2 separate regions of the Homo sapiens genome follow, and region 2 is linked to region 1. Evidence: promoter capture Hi-C in human tissues and cell types (Jung and others, 2019). All regions are on one chromosome and are shown on one strand. The core of a region is centred on a gene start or on the middle of the fragment in contact, and the rest is flanking DNA. Distances in the headings are between cores, read along the strand shown. Region 1 holds the start of AMZ1 (archaelysin family metallopeptidase 1). Region 2 overlaps MAD1L1 (mitotic arrest deficient 1 like 1).

Evidence for each region. Contacts are between HindIII fragments. The study calls those that stand out against the background at their distance.
Region 2: a contact is called between a fragment that was not itself captured here and the fragment with the promoter of AMZ1 in region 1, in 1 of the 25 tissues and cell types used here (spleen).

Annotation. Positions count from the first base shown.
Region 1 is chr7:2,685,034-2,689,799 of GRCh38, forward strand. It overlaps AMZ1 (archaelysin family metallopeptidase 1), which reads left to right and starts at 3,169. Exons shown (of 7, transcript NM_001384743.1): 1 at 3,169-3,263. RefSeq lists an enhancer at 3,868-4,137. The HindIII fragment of the contact is 48,320 bases long and covers 1-4,766 here.
Region 2 is chr7:1,993,155-1,997,920 of GRCh38, forward strand. The region is part of intron 14 of MAD1L1 (mitotic arrest deficient 1 like 1); the gene reads right to left. Among named protein-coding and RNA genes, the nearest start is that of SNORA114, 94 kb to the right of the region's middle. The HindIII fragment of the contact is 3,632 bases long and covers 78-3,709 here.

The DNA of each region.
Region 1 (4,766 bases), core at 1,919-4,418:
TAATTTTTTGTATCTTTAGTAAAGATGGAGTTTCACTGTGTTAGCCAGGATGGTCTTGATCTTCTGACCTCGTGATCCGCCCGCCTCGGCCTCCCAAAGTGCTGGGATTACAGGTTGAGCCGCCGCGCCCGGCCTCGATGCATAATTTCCTTTCCGGTGGCTATTCAGGGAGGGGCGTGGGGGTTGGGGGGAGGATATTCCACAACTTCTTTGTAATAAGCAGCTTTAGGACAGAACATTCAGGCCAGGCTCGGTGGCTCACGCCTGTAATCCCAGCAATTTGGGAGGCCAAGGCGGGTGGATCACTTGAAGTCAGGAGTTCGAGACCAGCCTGGCCAACAGGGTGAAGCCCTGTCCTTCCTAAAAATACAAAAATTAGCCGGGCGAGGTGACGGGCACCTGTAATCGCAGCTACTTGGGTGGCTGAGGCAGGAGAATCGCTTGAACCCAGGAAGTGGAGTTTGCAGTGAGCCGAGATCGCGCCACTTGTACTCCAGCTCTGGGCAACAGAGTGAGACTCCGTCTCAAAAAAAAAAAAAGGCCGGGTGCGGTGGCTCATGCCTGTAATCCCAGCACTTTGGGAGGCCGTGGCAGGCGGATCACGAGGTCAGGAGATCGAGACCATCCTGGCCAACATGGTGAAACCCCATCTCTACTAAAAACACAAAAATTAGCTAGGCATGATGGCAGGCGCCTGTAGTCCCAGCTACTTAGGAGGCTGAGGCAGGAGAATGGTGTGAACCCGGGAGGTGGAGCTTGCAGTGAGCCGAGATCACGCCACTGCACTCCAGCCTGAGTGACAGAGCGAGACTCCGTCTCAAGAAAAAAAAAAAAAAAAAAAAAAGAACATTCATCTTTTCTCAGGTTCTGGGTTCTCCATCCCCAACAGAAATAACCTGGAAAATCCCTGCGGCAACACGTGTGAAGAAGTGCAGCTTTCTGAGTCACAATCTATTTGTAGGAATTTATCCCAAGGTGAGGGGGACCAGATACCTGTACAAAGATCTGTGGAAACAAGATCGTCTATCACAGTGATATATGCTAGTGAGACACCAGGAGAAACCAAAATATCCCAAAGCAGGTGACAGATCCATGACACGGAGTCCAGCGCAGACCATCAGGGTGTGGAGACGGACTTTTGGCTATTGATGAGTGTGAAGTCACGGGCCGCCTGCAGAACGCAGTATGTGACGTGAATCCCTTAAAATATGTATTTAGGCTGGGCACGGTGGCTCATACCTGTGATCTCAACATTTTGGGAGGCCGAGCTGGGAGGGTTGTTTGAGCCCAGGAGTTTGAGACCAGCTTGAGCAACATAGCGAGATCCCATCTCTACATAAAAGTTTCAAAATTAGCCAGGTGTGATGGCACGTACCTGTAGTCTCAGCTACTCAGGAGGCTGAGGGAGGAGGATTGCTGGAGTCTAGGAGGTCGAGGCTACAGTGACTCGCGTTTATACCAGTGCATTCTAGCTTGGGCAATAGAGCAAGATCCTGTCTCAAAAAAAACTTTTTAAAAATACATTTCAATGTGGAGGAGAAGGCGATCAGAAGGATGTCTGACAAGAAGGTGAGAGAGGTTACCTCTACACAGTTGGCTTATGGGGTCTTCTTTTTGTTTTTATTTTTCATAATTTTCCAAATTTTGCACACCGGACACCTAGTGTTGTGTTGTTTTTCTCTCTCTCTCTTTTTTTTTTGAAACAAAGTCTTGCTTTGTCACCCAGGCTGGAGTGCAGTGGCATAATCTCGGCTCACTGCAACCTCCGCCTCCCGGGTTCAAGTGATTCTCCTGCTTCAGCCTCCCGAGTAGCTGGGACTATAGGCACCAGCCACCACGCCCAGCTAATTTTTTTATTTTTAATAGAGACGGGGTTTGACCATACTGGCCAGGCCGGTCTTGAACTCCTGACCTTGTGATCTGTCTGCCTCAGCCTCCCAAAGTGCTGGGATTACAGGCATGAGCCACCACGCCCAGCCGTGTTATTTCTTAAGGCTTAAAAAAATTCTTTGAGGCTGGGTGTGGTGGCTCACGCCTGTACTCCCAGCACTTTGAGAGGCTGAGGCGGGTGTATCATGAGGTCAAGAGTTTGATACCAGCCTGGCCAAGAAGGTGAAACCCCATCTCTATTAAAAATACAAAAATTAGCTGGACACAATGATGGGTACCTATAATCCCCACTACTCAGGCGGCTGAGGCAGAAGAATGACTTGAACCCCGGAGGTGGAGGTTGCAGTGAGCCCAGATTGCACCATTACACTCCAGCCTGGGCGACAGAGCGAGACTCCATCTAAAAAAAAAAAAAAATTCTTTGCACTGGTGTGGGACGATGGTGACGAATCCCTCAGCCATCTGTGGGGCGCTGCTGAGGGCGTGGGGGGCATTTCTGCACGGTGAAGCAGAGCTGGTGGGAGGCTGCCCGAGGGAAGCTGGTGCTGGGAGGGTTTGCAGAGAGGAAAAGGGCAGTTTATGGAAAAGGCCTCTGGGCTCTGTCTGGAGCCGTCATGCCGGCCTTCACGGCATCCTTCCGCACTTAGAGTCCTTTCCATCTCCTGGTGGCTGGCACAGGGCCAGGGCTGCACTCACAGCTGGCCAGGGTAGGGCAGGGCGCCCGTCCTCAGGGCCACTGACTGTAGGGCTAACCTAGGGGCCTGGTTCACCCCTCTCACCTGGGGCTTCGCTGATAAGCCTGGTTCACCTCCTCACCTGGTGGCCTCGTTCACCCCCTCACCTGGCGCCTTGCCTGATAGCCTGGTTCACCCCTCTCACCTGGGGCCTCTCCTGGTGGCCTGGTTCCCCTTCCTCACCTCGTGGCGCTGGTTCACCCCTCTCACCTGGGGCCTTAACTGGTGGCCTGGTTCACCTCTTCACCTGGCGCCTTGCAGAGTAGCCGGGTTTACTCCTCTCACCTGGGGAGGCACGAACTGGCCCGGGCTGACTGACCTCCCTCACCTGTTTGGCTTTAGGCTCTGGGGCCCCCCTGCCCGGGTGTTTCTGGGAGGCTGGAGGGTCCCACGTGAGCTCCACCGCGGGCAGCTGGAGGGAGTGGGGCAGGACGCTGAGCGCCGGGAGGGGTGTGGCCCTCCTGTCCTGCCCGCGGCCCCACACCGGCCCCAGTCCCGCCCGCCTCGGTCCCTGCCCCGCGCGCCGACGTCACCGGGACCTCCCGATCCTCCCGGCCCAGGCCGAGCTGCCCACGCTGCTGCCCGGGGCTCGGTGCCCGGCGCGGCCTCTGCCGGCTCCGGCGGGCGCGGGACTGCGAGGTAGGGGGGCGCGCGGGGAAGACTCGGGGGCGCAGGGACCGAGAGGGACCTCCGTGCCGGGGCGGGTGGGTAGGGGCAGCTCCGGGTCCAGCCCGGCCCGCGCACCAAGTCCCGAGGGCGCCCGGGCGGCGGCGGCTACGGGCGCGCGGGGACCGCGGAGACGCGAAGGGCGCACTTGGCGAGGGTTTGGTGCAGCGCCGCGCCGGGGTCCGCACAGCCCCGGCAGGTCCTGCAGAGGGAAGGCCGGGCCAGGGAAGGGCCACGCGCCCCCTCCCCGCCATCCTCTCCCAGGCCAGGGCGACCTGCGCGCTTCCCGATGGGAGCAAACTGGGGACGGGTCGGGAATCCAGGGCCAAGCGCCCGAAAGAAGGCGTTTCCGGGCTGGGGCGAGCCAGGTGGGTGCGGGACGTCCCCGGGGAACCTCCAGGGCGCCGAGAATCTCGTCGTGCCCAGGGCTCCCCGCAGCCTGTGTATGAGCCGGGGAGGGAGAAGGCTTCCTCCCCCAGGAGACTGAGGGAGAAGGCTGTGGATATGATCCCTGCAGGGATGTAAGACAGGTCTCAAAACCAGAAAAGCAAGGGAGGGGTGACAGAGAAATGGCAAACTTTACAAAGGACAGGGGAGGGCAGGGACCTGGGTCCTTTCTGCCCCCATCACGGGAGGGAAACACTTGGCAGAGGAGTTTGGGGTTCGCAGGTGAGGAGAGAGAACAGGAAGCCAAGAGTCTGGCCCGGAGGCCACTACCCCTGCGGTCTAAGCCCCCGGTTTTCCCTCCTAGCGAATGGAAACTGAGAGGTGAGAAACCCCCAAAACCATCCGTCCGTCTGGTTCTGCCTGAAGGTCTCCGCTGTCAGCTAATGAATAGCTCGATGCAGCTGCTGGGAGGTTTTGCAAAGCGCATTCAGAATAGCGAGAATCAGAGCATGGTTTCTTGCCCAAAGGCCAGGCATCTGCGTGGTCAGATGGGGGAGCATGAGTGCCCGGAGCTGTGCGGTTTAGGGCAGCCTGACCTTGGATACCTGGTTACTGGGCCAGTCTGGCGGCCCTTGTTGCTTAGAGCGGCAGAACCTCCCTGGGGGGGGGATGCGGACGTGCTCTTTTCCAGTCTTTGGACAAAAAAAGGCAAGGGGAGGAGGAAGGAGAAGCGTCTGAGTTTACCCATGGTATTAATAGCAGCAGGGCTGGAACTCGGGTGCTCTGGGAGAGGAGACGTCCTACCCCCTGTCCCCGTCAGAACATCCCTGCTCCAGGAGCAGCTGGGGTTCCAGTGTGAAGCGTGGCTTTGAAACCAGGCCCCGCTGGCCCCCAGCTGTGTCGCCAGGGCCAAGTCACTTAACGTCTGAGCCTCAGTTTCCCCACCTGAAACACCGCAGTGGCACCTGCGGCTCCGTGTGTGGCTTGGAGGACGCAGGCATGAGACCTGTTGGCTGCTGTCATGACTGCAGTTAGCAGAGGAGGGGGACACACTGTGACAGGGTCCAAAGGACAGCGAGAAACCTCCAT
Region 2 (4,766 bases), core at 644-3,143, 690 kb before region 1:
TCCCCGCCCCCAACGCCCAAAAGATGCCCCCATGGGTCATATGGCAAGTGTGCAGACAGCAGTGACATGCAGGTGACTGAGATTCTAAACCACCCAGGAATAACCCTAGTAAGCAGTGGGCAGGACCCACAGTGCAGGGAGGGCACAGGGCTTCTGGGGGAGCCACAATGCAACCAGCTTGCCTTCCCATGTCAGTCCGCAGACCAAGGCAATGCAAGAGGACTGGCAGGAACCTTGGCAAGCTCCCTCTAAAGTTTACCGGAAAAAACATTGGAGAATATCTAAGATCATTCTGAAAGAGAAAATAACACAAAGGTCACGACGTATCAGACACACTCTGAGGCTCTGCTAGCTCACACACTGTGGCACTGGCCCAGATAGAAAACAAGCTTACGCCTTCCCTCTGCACTGAGATTTTCTTCTGTTTTTTGGAGGAGAAGCAGGGATCCAAATCCTCTACAACCAAGGCTCAGACATTATGCCTGAGAAATCTATTTTCTGGGCGAAGAAACCATCTTCTCAGCTACTTTTTCTAAAATGCAGATGATCCTTACAAGGTAACGACATTAAATCACCAGCATCTTCTCATAAGATCTTTGCAAACTGGTAAAAACTGAAAAGGCTGGGTCCTCACACTGGGAAAGGGGACAGAGGGAAGATGAAGCATCCTCCTCCCACCTGTCCCCACTCAGCACTCGGCAGATGCTTTAAACTCCCCAGCTGAATGCCTGGCCCTGGGCTAACGCTGGAGCCCCAGAAAGCCCTGGGTCCTGTCCTGGTGGATTTCACAGACAGCCTGATATGAGGAAGCCCCTGCAACTGCCCTGGCCACAGGGTCTGGGGTCAGCCTGCCTGGGTGTGAACCCTGGAGCACTCTCCACCACTGCCGGTGCCAACACGGGCAGGTCACTAATCCTGGCTGCCCCTGTTCCTCGTCTGAGTATCTGGGGCCACAACCAGCTTGTGGGTTTGCTGCCAGGATCACAGGGGGATAATCTGTGTAAACAACAAGTGTGTACTCATGACATGGTGAGCAACAGCACACACTGGCTTTGCACGTGCCACCGCCACACCCAGGGCAGCACAGGGACGATGGTGGCGGTGATGGTGAAGGTGCAGGCCCCGTGAAGGCAGGGAGGGAAGAGCGTGTCTGCGATGCAGGGGCAGCAGCACGGGTCCAGCTCAATTCCCAGGGGGCCTGAGGCTCCGCTGAACTGAAAAGACATCCTCAGAGGGGGAGCAGCACAGGGATTGCTTGGAAGGGCGTGAGAAGATGTGCTCAGAGGGTGGGGACATCACCGTAGGCAGGGCAGGCCCATCGGGCACTGAGGGACCAGGCAGAGACCCCCCAGTAGGAGGACTGGGCAGGGCAGTGAGCGCCCACCGGGTCTCACACAGCAGGAAGGAGGTGGGCCCATGCCATGGACTGTGTGCTCCCGCTCTCATGCTGAAATCCTAGGAGGGAGCCCGGGGAGGTGAGGAGGCCACCGGGCGGAGCCTCGGGGGGGGGATTAGCACCCTCATAAAAGGGACCCCAGAGCTCCCTCGCCCCTCCCACCGTGTGAGGACACAGTGAGAGGGCGCCATCTGGAACCAGGAAGCCTCAGCAAACACCAGACCGGCCAGTTCCTGATCCTGGACTTCCAGCCTGCAGAACCGTGAGCAACAAATGTCTGCAAGGGTTTTGTTTTATTTTATTTTTTTAAACAGAGACGAGGTCTCACTCTGTTGCCCAGGCCAGTCTCGAACTCCTGGGCTCAAGATTTCCACCCACCCCAGCTTCCCAAAGTGCTGGGATTACAGGCGTAAGCCACCACGCCCGGCCAACATCTGCTACTTTAAGCAGCCCAGTCTGCGGTGTTCCTGTTAGGGCAGCTGAATAGACAGATGCGCAGCCACAGGGTCTCTGTTCCCTCAGACAACAGCCTAGAAGAGGCACTCAACAAATGCTTGCTGAATTAGACAACTTCCCTCCAATGCAAGAGGCATTTAAAGCAAAGGTTGCTCCATGTGACACCTGCTGTGGCCAGCACGATTCCTTCCACTCTGTGGAGAAGCCTCGGGGGGCACCTCGGGGCACGCACTGAGGATGAGGCTGGACGCAGGGAAACCTGAGCTGGTGAACGGGCAGCGAGCCTGGAACCAGCCCCGGGGCTGCTGAGGAAGATCAGGCCCCTGTTCTCACCCAGAATCACTTCCCAGAACAGCCTGGATCTTCCCAGCACACGAACTCACTTAGCTTTGTGAGACTCCAGGGAGGCTCCCCGCTTCCTCTCTCCACCCTGAGGACCAGGCAGTGAAGCACCTGCCTGTGGCCACACAGCAAGAGAGGTGACAGGTGTGGCTGAGGGAAGGGACCAGTTGTGTGGGATGGAAGGGCGGGCGCAGGAGCCCCAGGCGGGGGGCCCAGGAGAGGCCGCCTCCAGGGCTGGAGAGGAGGAGAGTGAGCTAAGGACACAGTCTCAGACTTTGAGCCATTCCCCAGACCTGCCCCAGACACATCCCTGGCCCCAAAGAGCCTCTCCAAGCTCAGGACACCTGCACACCAGCGCGCGCGGGGACATACATGCTGGTGCAGCGTGAACTGAACAGGTTTCCAGGGACCAGGAGGCTGCCAGCAGCCATACAGAACCCCGGTGCCACCAGCCATACAGAACCCCGGTGCCAGCAGCAAGCCCCTCCAGCATGCCAAGCACGAAGCACTCCAGTCAGAAGTAGCACTTCGTCGTGGAGCAGGATGGGTCCGGAAGGTGAAATGAGGTACTGTCAGTTACCACACCAGGAGGCTCTCATGATCATTCATCTGCAGGCACTGGCCATGCTGCTGGATGTGACCAGACAGATTCCGGGCTGGGCACAGCCATGAGGACCAGCACTGACGAGGGGCTCACAGCTGCCTGGTCCATCTTCAGTAGCAGCACCAGTGAAGATAGAGGCACCAGCCACGCCTCCCGTGTGTGCCGGGCCCTGCCGGTCTACACACAGCTCCTGGGCATGCAGGGTCCCCCGGGTCTACACACGGCTGCTGGGCGGGCAGGGTCCCCCCGGGTCTACACACGGCTCCTGGGCGGGCAGGGTCCCCCCGGGTCTACACACGGCTCCTGGGCGGGCAGGGTCCCCCCGGGTCTACACACGGCTGCTGGGCGGGCAGGGTCCCCCCGGGTCTACACACGGCTGCTGGGCGGGCAGGGTCCCCCGGGTCTACACATGCCTCACTGGGAGTCTCTTCAGGGAAGCTCCGCCGGTGTCCTCAGCCTCCCATGAGAAGCCAGAGGCTCTGAGAGCCACACGGACCACAGGCTCCTGCACAGGAGACCCCAGAGAGCCTAGAGCTTCTTCATGGGCCCACGGGACCTGCCCTGCTCACGGTCGCCAGATTTCAGAATCTGTCTGTAAAGCACCTGCCGCTAGGCCCGACTCAGAGTGGGCCTCGACACCCTTCCCATTTCAGAGATGGACAAAGAAGGGTGGGGGACGGGAAGCAGCCTGTCCGGGCCTCAGTGCTGCTGTAGCCACGGCCCTTGGTGAGGCAGACTTGGCACAGGGTGCCCCTGGGAGCAAGGAGCAGGCACAGAGGGGCCACAAAGGGAAATCAGCAATCAAGGAAGATGCTGCTTAATCAGAGCTGAGAGCGGCGTAATTCCCTCTGAATCGGAAAATAAAGCTTCACTCCTCACTCCCCAAAGTCTATAAAATATTAGAGGATATTTTAGAGCTGAGAGCGGCGTAATTCCCTCTGAATCGGAAAATAAAGCTTCACTCCTCACTCCCCAAAGTCTATAAAATATTAGAGGATATTTTAGAGCTGTAATCAAAAGACTCCCATCTCCAGCCACTGCGGGCCTAGCTAATTAGGGGGGTTCGCTAATGATACGACGATGGCCCAGGAAATCTCTCCTTGCGATATTAATTGCATTTAAAGAAAAAAACATGAATTGTACTTATGCTTACTAATTAGTACGGGTTTGCTAATTAATAATAAGAAAGTCAGAGTGCCTTTGTCTTGTCATTGGCAATTAACTAAAGATTTAAATTTTTCTTTTTTCTCTCTTTTCTCATTTCCTAAATAACAAAATGACTTTGGGTTGGAAAATAGCAGGTAAAGGAGCTGCAGGCTGGGAGACGGGACGGGCACTAGGGCCATGTCCCAGACCACTGTGGACAGAAGGCGTGAGTGACACAGTCAGCCCTGCCTAGAATGTGGCTTCTCCACACAAGCCCTGAGGGTGCAGACCACCTAGGCCCCAGCCTTTCCAGGGACAAGGGAGCCCCTTCCCCAGACAGCACCCACTGCCGAGCCAGTCACAGGGAACTGGGTGGGAGGGGCCTCAGAGCCAGACCTGGGTGACTCCAGCCATCCCAGCTCAGGGCGAGCTCCCGCTCAGGTTCCTCCACCATAAAATGAAAAGGGAGTCAGGCTGTCCCGCAGCCCAGAGACCCCCTTCAGACAGGAACATGCACCTGTAACCCCCGGGAAGAAGCCATGACACTGAGGGCTCTGGGTCACACAGAGAAGGGGCAACCTGGAGCCCAGGGCTGCACAGCCCAGTGCGGTGGCGGGGGGCAGGGGAGGGAGGCCACTGGCCTTCAGGCATGCCTGGCAGGGGCCAGCCCCAACCACGGTGTCTGTAGCCCCCTTGCCTGGCACTGCTCTCCCCAGGACCTCCTCTGAAGGGCTTTGCATGGCAAGAGGGGCACACAGCCAGCGAGACCCCTCCTCTCGTCCCTCGGGAGCCCTGCGGCTCCAAACAAAGGACGGGGCCAGG